Regions from separate parts of the Homo sapiens genome. Here all the other regions are linked to region 4. Evidence: promoter capture Hi-C in 16 types of primary human blood cells and fetal thymus (Javierre and others, 2016). All regions are on one chromosome and are shown on one strand. Each heading gives the region's core, a stretch centred on a gene start or on the middle of the fragment in contact. The rest is flanking DNA. Distances are from core to core; before and after follow the strand shown.

What was found. The method cuts DNA at HindIII sites, captures the fragments that hold promoters and counts their contacts. A CHiCAGO score of 5 or more calls a contact.
Region 1: a contact is called between a fragment that was not itself captured here and the fragment with the promoter of SNRPB2 in region 4, in 7 of 17 cell types (total CD4 T cells, non-activated CD4 T cells, total CD8 T cells and 4 more). The highest score is 15.0, in total CD4 T cells.
Region 2: a contact is called between a fragment that was not itself captured here and the fragment with the promoter of SNRPB2 in region 4, in 1 of 17 cell types (non-activated CD4 T cells). The highest score is 5.4, in non-activated CD4 T cells.
Region 3: a fragment that was not itself captured here is called in contact with the fragment with the promoter of SNRPB2 in region 4 in 6 of 17 cell types (naive CD8 T cells, activated CD4 T cells, non-activated CD4 T cells and 3 more); the score reaches 12.7 in naive CD8 T cells.
Region 5: a fragment that was not itself captured here is called in contact with the fragment with the promoter of SNRPB2 in region 4 in 8 of 17 cell types (naive CD8 T cells, total CD8 T cells, naive CD4 T cells and 5 more); the score reaches 16.1 in naive CD8 T cells.
Region 6: a contact is called between a fragment that was not itself captured here and the fragment with the promoter of SNRPB2 in region 4, in 2 of 17 cell types (total CD4 T cells and total B cells). The highest score is 6.2, in total CD4 T cells.

What each region holds. Positions count from the first base shown.
Region 1 is chr20:13,771,594-13,774,576 of GRCh38, forward strand. ESF1 (ESF1 nucleolar pre-rRNA processing protein) reads right to left here. Exons shown (of 14, transcript NM_001276380.2): 5 at 922-1,022. Among named protein-coding and RNA genes, the nearest start is that of ESF1, 12 kb to the right of the region's middle. The HindIII fragment of the contact is 5,034 bases long and covers 1-2,983 here.
Region 2 is chr20:18,803,767-18,806,904 of GRCh38, forward strand. No RefSeq gene overlaps it. Among named protein-coding and RNA genes, the nearest start is that of SCP2D1, 8.4 kb to the right of the region's middle. The HindIII fragment of the contact is 3,074 bases long and covers 351-3,138 here.
Region 3 is chr20:13,811,943-13,815,150 of GRCh38, forward strand. All of the region lies in intron 8 of NDUFAF5 (NADH:ubiquinone oxidoreductase complex assembly factor 5), which reads left to right. Among named protein-coding and RNA genes, the nearest start is that of NDUFAF5, 29 kb to the left of the region's middle. The HindIII fragment of the contact is 7,931 bases long and covers 1-3,208 here.
Region 4 is chr20:16,728,676-16,731,798 of GRCh38, forward strand. It overlaps SNRPB2 (small nuclear ribonucleoprotein polypeptide B2), which reads left to right and starts at 1,351. Exons shown (of 7, transcript NM_003092.5): 1 at 1,351-1,489; 2 at 2,993-3,091. The coding sequence starts at 3,028. RefSeq lists enhancers at 462-1,330, 1,389-1,438, 1,489-1,608 and a silencer at 1,759-1,808. The HindIII fragment of the contact is 9,448 bases long and covers 1,088-3,123 here.
Region 5 is chr20:13,790,918-13,794,355 of GRCh38, forward strand. NDUFAF5 (NADH:ubiquinone oxidoreductase complex assembly factor 5) reads left to right here. Exons shown (of 11, transcript NM_024120.5): 4 at 2,263-2,310. Among named protein-coding and RNA genes, the nearest start is that of NDUFAF5, 7.6 kb to the left of the region's middle. The HindIII fragment of the contact is 216 bases long and covers 1,451-1,666 here.
Region 6 is chr20:13,754,170-13,757,399 of GRCh38, forward strand. All of the region lies in intron 9 of ESF1 (ESF1 nucleolar pre-rRNA processing protein), which reads right to left. Among named protein-coding and RNA genes, the nearest start is that of ESF1, 29 kb to the right of the region's middle. The HindIII fragment of the contact is 2,329 bases long and covers 453-2,781 here.

The DNA of each region.
Region 1 (2,983 bases), core at 420-2,919, 3.0 Mb before region 4:
CCAAACCATCTTTCCTTCATGACTTTGCCTTTATAAACATTAAATACTTAAGCTCAACTTATTATTCTCACAAGGTACAGATATTTGGATTGGAATTTGGTATCTAGGAAAGGAGTGTGTGGGAATTCGTGTGTTTATCTATAATTTAACTCACAGAATAGTTACTTTGCTATTACACACTGCCTTCTCAAGTAAAACCAATAAAGATAATTCTATTATAAAATATGCTAGAAAACCATTAGCTAAAAGACATTCCTGATCTTGCAAAATGTTTGCTTAAGAGTCTATAAGTTTGATTTTGCTTAACTACAACACATTCTTTTTTTTTTTTTTTTTTTTAAGGTTCCACACAAAGCACTGATACAACTCTTTCTTTGAAGGTCTTCATCTGCTCTCTCCTGTCACTAATCTATTTAACCCTCATTTTTATTAAGTGCAAATATAGCTCCACCTAGTGGCTTAAAAACTATCTTAAATTATTTTCTATATTGCACCATGATGATAAAAAAAAAAGTTTTATCATTCTTTCACTTTTCTATTTGATTCTCAAATAAGAAAAAATTATATAATTTGAAGGCAAACAGAGCTTCAATGATGTCTCAAAAAAAAAAGCAAAACGTACTAATTCAGAGCAACGAGGCTGAAAGAATTCAAAAGAACTCCAAATCAGTTTAATCATGAAATGTTTTTCAAAAACTGCAATAATTACTTTCATGAATACAGAAATAGAAATATACACGAACAAAAATCTTCTTGGAATAATGTACCACTTTTAACAGACTTTAAATCTGTTTTGCAACCTGTTTTAACCACGAATGGCACAAGTATAAACTTTAGTTTTAACTATTAAGGTGACCAGAATTCTGAACTAATGACATGAATTTATGAGGTTTAGTTTTATGTTCTATAGTGATTTAATACCAGTCTTTTTCTGGGGCATCTTCAGGAATACTTAATAGCTCTACTGGTCCTTGAACTTGCTCTTCCTTCATCCTCTCCTTTCCAAATTCTGAAGGATATATCTAAACAGAAAAAAATAGGATCAATGTAATTTGTACATTCCTTTACACAAATATCTAGACCTGTCGAAGTCAGGAACTCTAAAAGTCACAACTTGACTCAATGAAAACAGTAAGGGTGACTCACTTCCAAATCCACTATAGGAAGCTAGAGCATCTTGAGAAATTTTATTTAAAAATAGATCACTTTGGCTAGAGACTAACAAGATACGAGGCTTGGAAACAAAAATAAGAGTATCTCCTCCACATACCACCTGGGACAAGATGGTTCCGAGATCCAAACGAAAAATTAAAAGCAAAACAAGATGCTAAGCTCAAGGAAATGTGAATAAAAACACACACATGAAAAATGACTGAATTAGTTTACATGAAATACAGAAAAATAAACATATAATGAAGATCAATTTTGTAATAACCAACTTATCTCTGTCATACCATTTATCCAGTGCTTTCTTTTAAAGAAATAGAACAGAACTGACGACAACCTTATACAGATTAGGTATAGTCTCGATATAAGAAAAAGAATTCACTCTCACCAGGTGTGGTATCTTCTAAAATCTTGCCTACTTTAAGAGTCAAGAAATAATTGTATTAATGACATTGTTTTGATACTACTAGGCTTAATATACATTTGTTAATGAACACATGCTTTTTTAAACTGTCTGAAATATGCAATTTATCAACAAGATGATCCAAGTTTTTCTTACTAACTTGAATAGTATATACACAATAGGTTTAATATGTAAGTTTATAATATATATGTAGTCACATCTTTTGATTCTTTTTTTTCCTCTTTTCTAAGTCTAGAAATTCTCACTATTGCCTAAAACACAGGGTTTTTAAATTGTTTCTTTGGCTTGACTTTTAATTTTTTTTTCCTTTGCTTCATCTAGAATTTCGCTGGAGCTATTAGGAGGTGAAGATCTGAACCAAGTTCTCTATCCAATGACCTGTTCATTTGTCCAAATATTCAAGCAGCCTATTTTGATCTAAGTTATCATATGAACTCTTTCTATCTATTCTGTTCTACCAATTTGTCCCATTTTTACCCAAACCTGTCAACCCCCATAGCATCATGAAATGTTTAGATATTGTAACTTGTAGGGTGAGTTTTTACACTTGATCTTAGCCAAAAGGCCGAGAAGCGACAGGGTGAGTTTTTATATTAGCATGATTTCTCAAAAGTTTATTAGCTAGTCTAGGCCAGGCGCGGTGGCTCACACCTGTAATCCCAGCACTTTGGGAGGCCGAGGCGGGCGGATCATGAGGTCAGGAGATCGAGACCATCCTGGCTAACACAGTGAAAACCCGTCTCTACTAAAAATACAAAAAATTAGCCGGGCGTGGTGGTGGGCGCCTGTAGTCCCAGCTACTCAGGAGGCTGAGGCAGGAGAATGGCGTGAACCCGGGAGGCGGAGCTTGCAGTGAGCCGAGATTGCGCCACTGCACTCCAGCCTGGGCGACAGAGCGAGACTCCATCTCAAAAAAAAAAAAATAGTTTATTAGCTACTCTTAATTTGTTTATTCTTTTAGATGATTATTGGTATCCTTTTTCTTAACTTTGACTTGAACTGGGATTTTGATCAAAATTACCCTAGAACAGTAGACATAACATCTTTAAATATTTAAACAGAATAATACAGGTTGAGCATCCCAAATCCCAAATCCAAAATTCCAAACTTTTTGACTGTCAACGTGAGGTTCAAAGGAAACGCTCATTGGCGCATTTCAGATTTTGGAATTGCGATGCTCATCCAGTAAGTATATATAATGCAATTTTATTTCAAAATCTGAAATTCTAAACACTTCTGATCCCAAGCATTTTGGATAAGGGAGACTCAATCTCTAATAATGATTGAGGGCAGGGCTATTTCAGGCACTGCACTAAATACTTAGTTCAAGCTCCTTTATACTTAATCCTTACAATCACCAATACTATTGTTATATCCATTTGGATATATTGG
Region 2 (3,138 bases), core at 638-3,137, 2.1 Mb after region 4:
ATATATTTTATGTCTTAATACATAATAACAATTCAACAACAAACATTATTCCAGAAGGATCAGGTGAAACAAAAATTTTGGTTTTGAAATGTCCAAACCCATAAACTCTTGGGTTCAAAGTAGTTAGCTATGTGCCTTTGGACAAGCTACTCAGCCTCTCAATTTCCTCATTTCTAAGGTGAGAACAATGTTAGTAACTACCCCAGAATATTATGAGGTTTAAAGGGCTTTACTACAGTGCTTGGAGGATTGTTATAGCTCAGTAAATATTAACAACAATAATAATAATATCAACAATTGGCTCAGTTGTTAAATACTTCAGTATTTTAAAAAACCTATAAAACAGCATAAGCTTATGTCCACACAAAATTTTGCACACAAGTGTTTATAGCAGCTTTTTAAATAACTGGCAAAAGCTGGAAGTTACCAAGATGTTCTTCAGTAGGTGAATAGATAAACTGTGTTGTAGCCATATGATATTATTTAGTGATGAAAAGAAATGAGCTATCAAGATACAAAAAGACATGGAGAAAACTTAAAATGCACATTGCTAAGTGAAAGAAGCCAATCTGAAAAGGCCACATCCTGTACGATTCCGCTATATGATATTCTGTAAAGGGCCAAACTTTAGACAGTGAAAAGATAAGTGATTGCCAGAGGTTAGGGAGGAGGGAAGGATGAATAGACAGAGTTCCGAGGATTTTTAGGGCAGTGAAGCTGCTCTGTATGATACTGTAGTGGTGGATACATGACATTATGCATTCGGCAAAGCCCATGTAATGTACCTCACTAAGTGTGAACCTTAACACATTAACTGTGGACCTTAATTAAAAATAATGTATCAATATGGGCTCATCAGTTGTAACAAATGTACCACACTGATGCAAGATATTAAAAATAGGGGAAACTAAGCAGGGGAGCAGGGAGATGAAGTGTTTCAGAACTTTCCATGCTTCTCAAATGTTCTATAAACCTAAAACTGCTCTAAAGAATAAAGTCTATTAATAAAAAAGCAAATGAAGAAAAAAATAAAACATTTTTACTTGAAAATGTTTAAATTAAATGTTTCTTCTCAGTTTGAATCATGTTTTTCCCAAAGTGTGTGTGTGTGTGTGTGTGTGTGTGTGTGTTGTAAACTTTAACCTAGAGACAAATTACGAGATAGTTTTTATTTTCAAACCAGCGAGAATGCAACAGGTATGTGGGGGATCATATTTATCTATATCTATATCGTCTATAACTATATCTATATCTATCATCTATCTCTATCTAATCTCTCTATCTTCGTGTTGTAGTTCAGCATATTACACATTTTAATGAGCAGAGGAATCATTGGGCATCTTGTTAAAATGTGGACACCAATTAAGCAGGTCTGCGTGGGATCTGAGATTCCATATTTCTAACCAGCTCCCAGGGATGCCACTGATGCTGGTCCACAAACATTTTAAGTAGCAAGTGTGTAGACAAAAGCAACTGAGTGTGTGGAGCCTGACTCAGGTAGGGAACATTATGTCATCATCTCAGCCAAGCCCTAGCACTGAATGTGTCTGTCTGTCTGCTGTGTGGAAAGACTGCAGGCTGTAACTTCAGTAAGATTTGTCTGTTTAAGTACTGAAGACTTTGCCCATAAGGACTGGTTTGCAAGCCCAGCTATTACTTTTTTTGGACTTTACCACAGTCAGTTAGGGCCACAGTAATGCTGAGTAACAAACCACTTAAAAGCTCAGAGGATTAAAATGAGCAGAATTTATTCTCGTGGGTCTACATGGTAATTTCCTGCTTGACTGATTTAGGTCAGCTCCACACGTGTCTCATCCTTCCTGGACCAGCAGCTCCCTAGGGCATGACCTTGTCATGGCCATGGCAGAAGCACAAGCATGAAAGCCCCACTGCGCAAGGACATTTCAAGCCTCTGCTCACATCATGTCCGATAACATCCCGCTGGCCAAAGCAAACCCCACGGACACAGCCACCTTCACAAGGGTGGGTAATTTTGCTCCACTTACGACTACATAATAATCCCACTACAGGTGTGATGGATTAAGACCTGTAATTTGACCTATCACAGTCTTTGCATCAACAGAGTAAGAGGTGAAATTCTACTTAGATAAGAGCCTCACCCACAGTAATACATGCCATTTCCTGAAGCCATATCAAATATAAAAAAATTTTTCACCACTGCCTCTGAACAGGTTTCCTGTTGCTGCTGTCACTGTCTTAGAACTCAAAGATATGTGGGCTGCAGACATATATGCGTACATATAGAATGATGCTGTAGTTGGAATGTGTGTTTCCTCCACATCTCATGTTGAAATCTGATATCCAGTGTTAGAGGTGGGGCCTAATGAGAGGTGGCTGAGTCATGGGGATGGATCTTCATGAAGAGAGGATAACCTCATAAAGAGATTAATGCCTTCCCTTTTCGGGGATGAGGCGAGTGAGTTATTGCTCTGTTAATTCCTGAGAAAGCTGGTTGTTACAAACAGCCTGGCACCTTCCCCCGCCTTGCTGCCCCCATGTGATCTCTGTACACACTGGTTCCCCTTTGCCTTCTGCCATGAATGGAAGGGGCCTGAGGCCTTCACCAGAAGCAGATGCTTCTTGTACAGCCTGCAGAACCATAAGCCAAATAAACCTCTTTTTTTTTTTTCATAAATTATCCAGCCTCAGATATTCCTTCATAGCAACACAAAACAGATGAAGATGAATGGTGGAACAACCAACCAACCAACCAAGTGCTGACAAGTGTGCAGAGTGTCTTAGGTTGAGCTGCTGTAACAAAATATTATAGACTAGGTGGCTTAGATGACAGAAATTTATTTCTTACAATTCTGGAGGCCAGGAAGTCCAAGATCACTGTGCCCGCACATTCAGTGTCTCCTGAAGGCCCGCTTCCTGGCTGGTAGATGGCCATCTTCTGGCTTAGAGCATGTTCAGGATGGGCAGGGGGGCTCTCTTCCTGTTATTCTCTCTTCTCTGTTCTTCTTCCTTCTCCTCCTCCTCCTTCTTCTTCTTCTTTCTTCTTCTCTCTCTCTTTTTTTTTGTAGAGATGAAGTTCCACTATGTTGCCCAGGCTGGTCTCAGACTCCTGGACACAAGTGATCCTCCCACCTTGGCCTCCCAAAATGCTGGTGTTAT
Region 3 (3,208 bases), core at 666-3,165, 2.9 Mb before region 4:
AAAGAAAGAGGATTATACAAATAAGTATCTAGTCTTTACTTACAGATTTATAGTCTTTTGTGAGCATTGTTGTTCTTGCTTGCTTAAGTTACGAGTGAGAATAATTAGGGCCAAAGAGAACAGTTACCTGTCAAGTGGCAGAATTAGCTGCCAAACTCATGCTTCTTGGCTCTGCCCTGGCACTGTCTGAACTGACCCTGTTCCTTCTTGTGTTGCCCATCTGTAACAAGGTTCATTTGACCTATCGTGCAGCCTCCTCTGAGTGTGGAGCTTCTGTCACTCTGCAAACGGAAAGATGCGTAGCTGAAATCTTACCATTGTCATCAGTTTTCATTCATTAATAGAGGGATTGGCAGCCTGTAGCATGCATGGCCAAGATAACAGAGGATCAGTAATAAGTCACACACACCCCTTCCCCAGCATACCCCAAGGACTTACCTGATGTAATCAAGGAGCCACTTTATCCAAAGGCTTGAGAGATGATGGTGGGCTGATGATATATCACTCGGGCTCTAATAATAAAAATGTTATTCAAATACAGCATTTATTTTTGTTCTGCTGTAGAATCTGTGTTCATGATTCATTTCAAGAAAGAAAAGAGAAACATACTAGAAATTAGACCTCTCTGTTGGAAAAAGTTACTTCCCACTGATTTCAACATATGAGCAGCACTTAACTCTGTGCTTAGTGCAATTCTCTGAGGTTTTTCTAATACCCTAATTTTACCGGTGAGCAAATTGAGGCATCGAGAAGTTAAGTATCTTGTCCATGGTCACACTGAATCTGTAGTTACAATTTGAATTCAGAGTCCTGTACTGCATATTTGATATGTATGTGATTCTTTAAATTCAGGTTAACATGTATATTCAGCGAAATGTATTAATCTTAAAGGTACAGCTGCTTGTATTTTAACCACCATCCTGAACAAAATATTGAACATTTTCAGTCTCCCAGAAGGTAGCCTTGTGCTCCTTCCAAATTGATAACCCCCTCTTTTCCTAAAGGTTTCTTGTTTGTTTGTTTTTCAGATGGAGTCTCACTCTGTCGCCTAGGCTAGAGTGCAGTGGCACAATCTTGGCTCACTGCAACCTCTGCCTCCTGGGTTCAAGTAATTCTCCTGCTTCAGCCTCCCTAGTAGCTGAGATTACAGGCATGTGCCACCACACCTGGCTAATTTTTGTATTTTTAGTAGAGACAGGGTTTCACCATGTTGGCCAGGCTGGTCTTGAACTCCTGACCTCAGGTGATCCACCCACCTTGGCCTCCCAAAGTGCTGGGATTACAGGTGTGAGTCTCCTAAAGGTTTTAAATAGACCGTATATTTTCAGAAACTATGGCCTAATACTTTCAGATGCTTTCGTAATGCTGCTTTTTCTTAACTGTAATGTCTGTTACAGAAATCAGATGTCTTAGTTTTTGATACATCTTATCCTTAGGAATATTAAGAGAAATTATTTACACTTATAAAATGATATTTAACAAAATAGATATAATCATTAACAGGTTGGTTTTATATACCTTCACTTAGCGTTTATTGAGCATCTACCCATGTGCCAACCACGGAGCCAGTGGTGGAAATACGTAGTTCCTGATCTCAGGGAGCTTATGTTGTACTAGGGAAGAAGAACGCAAAGATAGAGACAGACTCCTACATTCAACTGTAAAATGAAATCATTTATAATAAAGTACAAGGAGAAACACAGGAGGAAAAGGCCCTAAATCTGCTTAGGGGGTCAGGAATGCTTTTGCAAAAGAGGCAGCACCTAAACGAAAATGAGTTTGCCCGGAGAATGAAAGGTGGGTTGAGGTTTAGGGGAGCTAACATTGCATCCACATGGAGGTAGAATAGGATATGCACATCCTTCACTCTCCTGATTAAGGAATGGTACCATAATCCAGTATTCCTTGAGTATATAGAACGGGGAGATGATGGGAAATGAATAGGATCAGAGGCTTCTAGATTTTTTTCAGATTAGCGTTGTAATGTCTTGGAAGAATTTTGCATAGAGGAGAGAAAATGAGATACATTTGTGTGTGTTAGAAAGCTCACCTTCCAGCATTGTTTATGAGGCATAGTTTATGAGGAAGGGAAGACTAGAGCTAACATGGTTAATCTGTTTGTTTGTTTTTTTTTAATGTGTGAGGAAACCCAGGCAGAAGTTAAGTAACTTGTCCCAGATGTTGTAATTAGTGAGTGGTAGAGCCAGGATTTAAACCTAGTCGAACAGCCTGATTTGTATGCTGAAATCTTAGCCATTCTGCCTTGGAAAAAGTCAGAGGCAGATGAGATGGGAAGAAGCATAGTCAGGGGATGATGGAGGCAGGGAGACCGTGGGAGACTTTCAGGTGTGCCATTCTGCTGACTAGAAGATCATGTTACTTCCAAATTTGTTTCTGGGATTTTACATTTGTGGTGTATTTTTTTTCTTAATGGTTGTGGTGTGTCTCATTTAAGCTGCTATTATTAATTCACAGAACAAAAGTCCAGAATGTTGACCTAATTTTACAAAACAAGCTGCATATCAGCTGATGAATGCATGAGAAATTTTCAAGGCTTTCACAGTGGTCTTAAGGTAAGTTCAGTTATTTTTTTAAACAATACTCAGTATTGTTTTTAGTAAACTGTAATAAATTAGGTTTATTTTTGATAAGCAGTTGAACTTCACCTTAAAAACACTGTGAGAGTCTTAAACAGTTAACCTACTAGCCAGATTTTTCTGTTATCTCAAAGCCCAGGGCGAGTCGGAAGTCCCAAAGTTTCAGTTTTTCCCAGGTGGTCTTCAGTAGAGGTCCCCCATGATGCATTAGGAGGTGTTACTCTTTTGTAGATGGCAAAACTGGAATTCGATAGAGGTTGAATGACTTTGCCCCAGGTTATATAAGAGTTAAAACTGGGAGTGTGATCCCAAAGTCCAGATTCTTTCCACCACCCTCACACTGCTTCTGCAAGAAGGGAGTTTCAGTGTGGCAGTGTGAGTGGCTTGTGAGGGAAGGCTGGAGTGCTGCACAGTTACGCCCTGTGCTCTGCAGTAGTGCTCTTGAATTTCTGTATGGCTGATGTAGGTCAGACCTTCAGAGAGTGTTATGCCTACTAATCTTAATTAGTATATCCTAATACTGATTGTTAGAAGGCATTTTAGAATTTCTAGTGCATCACATGTTTATGTCTAAAAAATTAAATCTCTTTTCTACTGGTGTTGTCCATAAC
Region 4 (3,123 bases), core at 101-2,600:
AGCCATTTCTTCTAGTTTTAGATCTATATAATAAAACGATGCTTTTCTGTGATCCCTTAACATTCTCTACACTCAGGTGCATGTTCAAAGCATATTTGTTTTACTGTTGCCTAGTTTTCCATGTCATTCATTGAATTATCCAATGCATATTAATTATCAGTCACTTTTCCCATTACTAAGGGTACTTGAGTGAACAGAGCAGACAAAAACCCCACCCTTAAAAAGCTTATATTATTTTCAAGTTGTTGCAACTTTGGGTGTTTTTAAAAAATAAAAATTCCCAGCTGATAAAACCAACTTATTTGACAGCTACCTGCCTCACCAGTAGAACCAAGTTATAGCCAGAATTCAGAAATAACATTTTTGAGCATTTATTGTGTCTGACAATGTGCCAATCACTTTACATTTATTTTAGCTCATTTAATGCTTACAACAACTAGAAGGAGGTACTATTAGGATCCCTATTTTACAGATGAAAAAAGTGAAGGTCAGAGAGATTAGTTAAGCAGAGGGTACAAGATTAGGTTCCAGTTGACTCTTAACAACCATTTCATATTCCAGGTGATGCTTTACAGACATCTGATGAATGGATGGATGAATGAATGCATGCACTTTGGGAACTCCCATTCAGCTTGGCATAAATACTAACTCCTTAGAATACCCTAGAAAAATCTAGACCTTTTGTTGGAAGAAAAGAGTGGGAAGGGTGGTAGGGAATTATTTTTTCGAGTGAATTGAGGCAGATGATCTTACAGATGACTGGGTTCTAGTCAGCATGGTTGCCTTATCTGGTGAGAGATGAGAATTGGGCAGACACCAGTTCTGTCTGCCCTGGGCCCTCAAACTGAGTAGCCTCTGAGATTCAAGTTCATCAGCACAGTGTTGGAGGACAGTTCCTGCAGAGCCCCATGAATCAGAGGAGACTCGGAGGCAGGAGGAACTGGCTATCCTAAAGGTGATTTTAAACCGGGGTAGCTAGAGCCCAAAGAAGGGCGAAACCAGGACTAACTGCCCCATAGCATGAGGGGCAGCGCCTGTAAAATTACATAGGATTTGTAAAGGTGGAAGGCACTGTTGCGCCGGGTAAAGCTTCGCAAGGTCGTGGTAGGGGAAATGATTCACTCCCCTTCACTATTCCCTCGCAGCATGGTCCTCACAACCCCCTTCTCTTTCCCCATTTCCATTTCCGGACTCTTCTCCTGCCCGCAGGGCAGACGCACGCGCAGAGAGATTGCCAGCCCTGGCTGCCAGAGACCCGGAAGCATCGATCGGCTCTGTGCTCGGCTTCTAGACTTGTCGGCGCTCGATTGAGGAGCGTGGCTACGTTGCTTCCGGTGCCTGGCTCCGTTTCCTGCTTTTGGTTCTTACAGTAGTCGGCGTAGGCCTTAGGTGGGTTCGTGCGCCTTCTACCTCGCTGTTTCGGTTTTCCTGGCTCCTCGGCCCTTTTCTCCCCTGTTGCAGCTGGGAGCGGACGAAGCGCGAAGCTGGGGTGGGTACGCGTTTGGCCCGGGTTTGGATCTCGGAGGGGCAGGCTTGGGGGTGAGGAGACTGACTCTGGGGCCGGGCATCGCGTGGCAGCTCCCTTGGACTTCGTTAGGGGGCCTTGGGCGAAGGTGCTTGTGTCTGGAGAGGCGGGAGGCTTGCGCGTACGAAGTAAAGGATAGTTAATGTCAGTCTGCTCGTGCGAGGCGTGGACAGTTCACTGCGCTTTCAGGTGTCTTCCAGCGGCTCCCTTTTGGTGGTGGCGGGTAATTCAGGGTGTCCCTGTAACAACGCAGCCCACGATCAAACCTCGCATGAAACCCTGCAAGAGCCTCCCCTTTGTCCCCCTACCTTCACTTTGACCTCTGCCTCAGTCACTTCCCTTTCGTCGTCTCCTTTGCGACCCCTGCCCCTTCTCCAGATTTCGATTTAGGGGGTCGCAAGGCTTTGAGAAGCGTTACGTTTTACCTGTTACCTGCACAAGTGCAGCCCCTGCTTGTAGGCTCTTCCCTTGTCAATCATCCAATGCAGTTCACATACAGTGGATGCTCTGTAAATACTGTGAGATAAAGGAATATGTGGGGCACACAAGGAAATCATCCAAGTTCACAATTTGCAAGTAAAAACCATGTAAAAAATGCAATAGTGTGGTATATGAGGAAGACAAGTGTAGAGGAGAAAGCAAGGGCTGAATTTCCAGGCCTGATGCTTATTAGCTGTGTGACCTTAGGCAAGTTCCTTACCTGGTAATAGCTGTTAATAATAGCTACTCTTAAGTGTTTACCGCTGATGCAGAACTGTGCTAGAATTCATTTAGTCTTCTGAGTTCTATTGGGTAGGTTCTGTTACCATTCTTATTTTACTGATGAGGACCTGAGAGGTTAAGGAACTTCCCTCAGGCAAACAGCTAGTAAGAAGCATAAATAGGATTTGAATTCACATCTGGCTGATACTGGAATCTGAGTTTAATCGTCATGCCACACTGCTGTCATTGAGCTCCTTTCTTTCAAGTCGGTTAGAGATAACCTTGGAGTCCAGACAGCTTGGTGATGCTGTATACAAATTAATAGGTATGGAAGGACTTTGTAAGTGCACCCATTAAGTAGTTGGCAAACTTCATTAATGTCTAACCTTATGATTTTTACTGGATGTACATTTGCTACTTTGGTCATTTTTCTTCAAATCTACATTTTAAAATTATTTCATTGAGGAGGTGGAAAGAAAATGTCACGTGTCATAAGTGAAACGTAAGTGTAAAAATAAATGTGTTGAATTAAATGGTGTTACTAAAATCTGGCTAGGTATTGGTGCTCCAAGTTTTGAATGTGAGAAACTGTTCTTCTTCTGTATGAAAAGGAGGGCTAGTAGGTGCTGGAGATACAATAAAGGCTACAGCCAAACTGACATTTTCTGACAACTGGGATTGAAAGAGAAATGAAAAGTTAATAATTCTTGTGTTGTGTCCTTATGCCACAGTCCAGTATAATTTACTCCTTCCTTTTTATAACAGATTTTTTACTGTCTCCTGAAGAATTTAACACAAACATGGATATCAGACCAAATCATACAATTTATATCAACAATATGAATGACAAAATTAAAAAGGAAGGTAAGTGCTTTTTAGAATACTTGTTCACTACT
Region 5 (3,438 bases), core at 309-2,808, 2.9 Mb before region 4:
TATTTGCTTCCATAGCACTTACAAGCTCCTGATGTATGTTTATTTGGTGTCTTTCTTCTCTTACTGGATTTGCTCATTTTTGATCACTACTAAATCCTAGTACCTAAATCACAATGAGTATTTATTAAATGACTATTGCAAGATAACTTTAGAGTTTAAGTTACACCTTTTGTGACTGGAAAATTCAGGGGATGTGATGTGGCAAGGAGCACGGGATCATTCCTGTTTTAGATATGTTGAGTTTGAGATGGCAGTGGAATATGGTAGTATAAATAGCTGGCAGGTAGTTGGAAATGTGGAACTGGAATTGGGATATTGAGGTTAAGAGCATTGACTTGAAGTCAGGGCTTCAAACTTCAGCTCTGCCACTGTCTGTGTATACTCAGACCTTGGGCCAATCAATTGCTCTAGACCTCAGTTTCTATAAAATATGATCAATAATACCCATCTCAAAAGGTTGGTAAGGGGATTAAGTGAGGCAAAGTAAACCTGTCAAAGGAGGCTATAGTTCTTATTTGGAAGTCCCTTTCAGAAGTGACAATTGAAGCCGTAGAAATAGGTAAACTCTCTGAGGCAAGAATATAGAAAAGAACCTTCTGCAATTGTACTTAGGGTTGGGAGAAAGAGGAAGAGCCAATAAAGATGCCAGGAATAGTAAGATGGAAAGTGTCTTAGTAAGGTATCTTTTGATTGTTGAAAGCAAAAATGTGCTGAAGCCAGTTTAAACACAGAGACATTTGTTACAGAGAGGCTCTTATGTAACTCAGGGATCCAGAAATAGAGCCAGGCCTCACAAGAGATGGGAACTTTGAAACACCATAACAATGTTCCTCCTGTTCGCATGCACTCTGGTACTACATGAATGCTGTCTGGTTGCCTTCATTCTTTTTACTCCCTGTAGTCTATCCATAGTAGTGTTCATCAGTGTGTGTGGCCCCATATGAATATGCTACACCCAAGGGTAGCTGAAGCTAGCTTAGGCCAGCCTGTGAGAGCCAATTGTTAGCATCTCTTCCCAACCTCTGTTCTGTGACATCATATTGATAGCTTGACATCAGCCCTGGTGGGAATATTTATACCATGGAAGTTGGCAAATGCTACAAAGCAGTCCCCAACCAAGAGCCAGCACACCACTGCCTATACCCTGAAGTCTAAATGTTCTTCCAACTCCAGGGACCTCTGCTATTATCTCGAAGTCTCTTAGTTCAAATTTTCAAGTGAGAGACAGGGATAGATAATCCTGTCCATCTAATTCTTCACCCCTCACAGGAGTGTGCTGGAGCTGGCTCATGAGAGCTATTGAGCACTCTTCCCAGCTCCATATTTAGCAACATCATGTTGGTAGCATGAAATCTTTCCAAGTTTCAGACAGGGAAGTGGGTGTGGGTAAAGTAAAAAAGGATTGGCTTCTCTAATAGAGAAGGGCAGCCAGAGTAGAAGCTTCTGAAGAAGCTTCTAGTAGGCTGTTGACAATGCTGTGCTTCAAAGAGGTCAGGTGAAGCAGGACTGAGAGCAGTGAGCACAGACTGCAGATAGTGTTAGCAGAGCAGTGAAAGCAAAGAGATACCCAGAATGGGGAGAAAGAATCTAGGAAGAAGTAGAGTTGTGGATTATAAACCAAACAACCAGAAGGTACCTAGAGGGAGGAGATTTTTTGTAATTGGAAAGCTTGTGCCTGTTGTAAGGTGGAGGAAGGAGACACAGAAGACACAGACTAAAGATTGATAGAGATGGAGATGGAGAGAGCAGGATCCCGGAGAAAAGAGGGCTGAGGGGGAAAGAAAGTGTTTTTCTGGTGCAGAAATAGCACAGTCTCCTTTCCTTTTGGAAGGGAGAGAGGGTAGGCGAAACAGGGAAAATGGAACCCTAAGCCTCTACCTGTAAGTCTTTCTTTACTCTGTAAACTCTTTGGATGAACAACTAAAAGGCGGGAAACTCATAGCAGGTCCTTTGTGACACAGGAGTGGGGAAATAGCTCTTAGCATGTTATGCCATGGAAAAGTTAACACGGAAGCCCTCACCCAGTGTAGTAAATTCGGAATGTTGAATACGCATACTCATGTTCTCTATTTTATTACATATAGTTAAATATAGCAAAGGATATGTGTTATTAAAAGTATTTGTGTACCATACTGGTTTTATGCAGAAATATACCTTTACAAAGCTGAAAATTAAAATGTAATTAACACTTTTACCTTTAGAAATGTCAGCAATTGTTTGTGACTGGATTTGTTTGTTTCAGCTTCAGTTATTCCATTGCAGGAAACTATTGGAAAGTTTTTCCAAGCTGACATTGCAGAAAATGCTTTGGTAGGTAGCTTTTTAATACTGTTGGTTTCTAATCTCGTGATGTGTTTTCTCATATTTTATTTCTTTATTTTTATTTCCTTCAAACTAGCTTTCTTTTCTGACACATGAAAAGGAACTCATACAGGAAATATCAAGAACAAAGGAAAAATCACCCCTATCACCCCTAGTCCTACCATTCAGAGGCAACCATTGGTGGCACTTGGTCTCCACATTTGCAGACATATAACTGTCCCCGCCCCCCCAACACACAACTGTGTATGAACATTACTATGCTAATATTCCATGTTATTTACGGCACATCATTTTTTTTGTCAGTGAATTTATACTTATGTGTGTCATATATCATCTTTTTAAATGGCTACATGGTATTCTAATATATGAATACTCCATAGTTTATTTAGCTAAACTTTCTATTGAAGGGCAGTTACGTTTCTAGTTTCTCAATAACCAACACTGCAGTGAAAATCCTTATGTGAAGCCACATTGTATGTTTGATTTATTTTTTTCCGTGGGTATAAATTCCTGGTAGCGGAATTTATGGATTCATTTTGATGTTCATTTAAAAATTTTTTGACATACATCTTCAGACTGCCCTTAGAAAGACTGAACAATGACAAAGGTACTTTTTACTACTTTGCTTTGGCAACACTGGGCCAGCCTTTTCGTCTGGGTCAGTCTGACAGCTGCTGATATCTTTTGACTATTGGTATTTCTTGTGAATTTTGTAAATAATTTTGTGATATGCCTGCACCTTGTCCTCTTTAGCTATCTTGTGTTTTTATTCTAGGTGATTTGTAAGAGCTTGGTTTTTAGGGATATTAATCCTTCATTGTATATGTTGTAAATATTTTCCTCAGTTGTTTACATTGTTTATTGATTTCTATTAATAGAAGTTTTTAATTAGTTTATCATCAAATATATCAGTCTTTTCCTTTACAGTTTCTGGCTTTTGAATTATGTTTACCTAGGCTTTTTCATCTAAGGGTAAAATGTCCAGTCCACCCATATTTTCATCTAGTACTTCGGTTGTTTCACTAAAACTTTCAGCCTTCTTTTTTCTTTTTTTTTTTCTGAGACAGTCTTGCACTGTTGTCCAGGCTGGAGTGCAGTGGTGCGATCTCAGCTCAC
Region 6 (3,230 bases), core at 367-2,866, 3.0 Mb before region 4:
ACCATTCAATATCACCAGTGAGCTTCACACTGCTAAATCCAATGGTCATTCTCAGCCTGTATTTTATTGACCCATATTCTCACTGAAATGCCTTCTTTATTGGCAGGCTGAATACCCCGCAATTCTGAATTTCCTCCTGCTTCTCTGATAGCCTCTCCAGCTGCTCGGAATGGTCCAGGCTCATGTCCTCTACCTCTAGATGTTAGAGTGCTCCAAGGATCAGCTTTTGAACCTTTCTTTTTTACCTATATTCACTACCTTGTTGTTCTTATTCACTTTCAGAGATTTATACAATGAAGATTCTCTAATTTATATCTCTACCAGCCCTGTACTCTTAACTGTATAACCAACTGATTCCTTGGCATGTCTATTTAGGTATCAATGGGCATCTTGAACTTAATGTATGAAAAAAAAAATTCTTGATGCTCCCTTGCAAACATGTTCCATCCACAAGCTTCATTATCTGAAAATTACTCCAACAGCCATTTGATTGATCTCCCCAATTTGGTCCTTGCCCCCCACTTTAATCTACTTATCTATAGCAGCAAGAATGATCCTGTTAAATATAAAAGTCAGATTTGACTGCTCCTGAGCTCAAAACTCTCCAGTGGTTTCTCATCTCAGTCACAGAAATTCATGTCTTTATAATGGCCTACAAGGCTTTCATGTCTGGCCCCAAACTACCTCTCTGATCTCAGTTACTTCTGTCCTCCACTGTAGTCATACTGTTCTCCTTGGATTCCTCAAACACAAGAGACAAAGTATAGCTTCAAGGATACTCCTATGCTACTTCCTCTGCTCACACAGTCTTCCTGGGCCAGGCTCACTCCCTGACCTCTACTTTCTTTAGTTCCTGGTCAAATATGTTTCTTATATATCTGTCATCTGTTTAGTTTCTCCTTCACCGGAGTATAAGATCTGTGAGTTCAGGGATTTTTATGTTTTGTTCACACAGTGTATAGAATAATTCCCGGCACAGAGTAGGTATTCAGTAAGTATTTGATGGAGTAAGGAAGAGAAGTTGGGGTTCTGTAGAGTGCTGAGTAGAAAAAAGACCAGCTATCCATTTCACTAATATCTATTAGGCCAGAGATAGCTAAGAAAAACAGGACTTTTACCATAATCAAAAATTTAAGATTATAAACAAACATGCCATTATTTATTTCTGGATGGAATTTCATATATATTGTTTATATTCAGCTTGCATTATCTACAAAAAATATTATGTAGATTAACTGGACTATTAATACAGGGGAAGTTATATAAAGAGTTAAAACTGATTACACTTCATTTATACGTGTATTAGAAATTCCTCAACGAGGTACATTTCTTGATGAAGGCCCAACTGGCTAATTATATGCATCACCTTATCTACTCCTTAGTAAGTTGGCAGGATACCTTTAGCAACGCATTGAGATAGGAAATACAACTTCACATACATCAAAATAATTAAGTATAACTTTCTTTAAAAATTTTATAATTCAACATTTTTACTTATTTATAATCCTAATTAATAAAATTGTATTATTACATTTCCATAGGAACTAAAATATTGATAGAAAGAGTAGCTCATTCCAGTTGTTATGCCCACAAACCTGTTATCAGTTCCCTTAATACTTACCCTTAAGAAATTAAACTCCTCATGTTACTATACTGTATAACCCAATGTAAAAAGGTAGAACGTTTAAATAGTCTAAACTAGAATTTCTTCTGAAAAATCAAACCAAACCACAATAAATGTTAGTGATTAAGAGTACTTATTTTCCTGAAGAGGTTAATATTTTGGAGAGTCAAGCCACAGAACCAATGAATGATACGGTATAATCTCATACTGACCCTCCGTGGTTTACTGAAGCATAACATCAAAAAAGTCCTGAGGTTCAGGGTAACTGTTACAGAAAACACACATTTCTTAAGACATAAATTCACTGAAATACACGTCATGAAAGTACTTTGTAGTTTATAACGTTTGTAAGTATCTCTAAGCAAGAAAGTGGTATTATTAGTTCCAATTTCCATATGAATAAACTGAGGTACAGAAAGATTGCTCAATGATCTTATATGTATAGCACACAGAAAAACCCTTTACACTTGCATGTGCATGCGTGCATGTACATAAGGATTCACAGATAACAATACCTCATTAGGGGCCTTCAAAATATTACAGTTTAAGACCTTTGAAACTCATACATTAAAATATCAATTTTCCCCTATTCAATTAAAAGTAAAAAATATATACCCAATGTTGACGATAATTCCGTGAAACTGACACTCTTACTGATTGTTGAAGGTATTATAAGCTGGTACAACACTTCCAGAAAGCAATTTGGCAATAACTTCAAGACACAAAAAGTATTCATGCCCTTTCTTAGTAACTCTATTTCTGGGAAACTATCCTATGAAAATAATTCAAAATATGGAAAAAGCTATAGGTTATTTATAACATCCCAGATACTTGGCATCTGGGATTTAACATTTGAGGTTTTGACACTGGTAGTTTTAACAGCTTGTGAGAGAACCACAGGTTGATCTACAGCACATGTAGAGTTGCTGTGTGAGCAAGGAAGTCACGTAACTAACTAGTGAGTTAAGCCTGAATGCTAGGCATCAGCTTCTCATTGTGGCCTGGTTGTTCTCTACTAGTCCTGACATGCTTGGAAACATTTCTAGGCTGGGAGAGATGAAAAACACACCTCTGTTTTAAAAGTTTTTAAAATTAAAAGGCCCTAAAAAGGCAAGCCAATTACTTGGCTGCTCATGAAAATGAAGAAATTTAAGAAAAGCTTGTTATTTGTGGGTTTGAGATCTGTCCTATTTTTTTTTCAATGTTATAAGTCCACTGTAGTGAAAGATTAGAAATCTGATTGCATATTCAACAACAGAGAAATGGTAAATTAAACTGTAATCTTCTTAACCAGTGGTTGAATTAGGATAGTGGAATTACAGATGATAATCTTTCATTTTACATTTTCACTTCATAAGGTCAACATTACCCTAATACCAAAAACCAATACGAGGAATGAAAACTACAGATCATATTCCTCTTTGCCACAAGTACAAATATTTTTAATAAAATATTACTAAATTAAGCTGGGAATATATAAAAAGATAAGGTACCATGACCAAGGTGGGGTTTATCTGAGGAAATATAAGCAATGCTTATAACTTCCAGTTACAGATAACAGGTGTAAATACCACTTTTAGGTATTTGCCCTACATTACTATGTTTT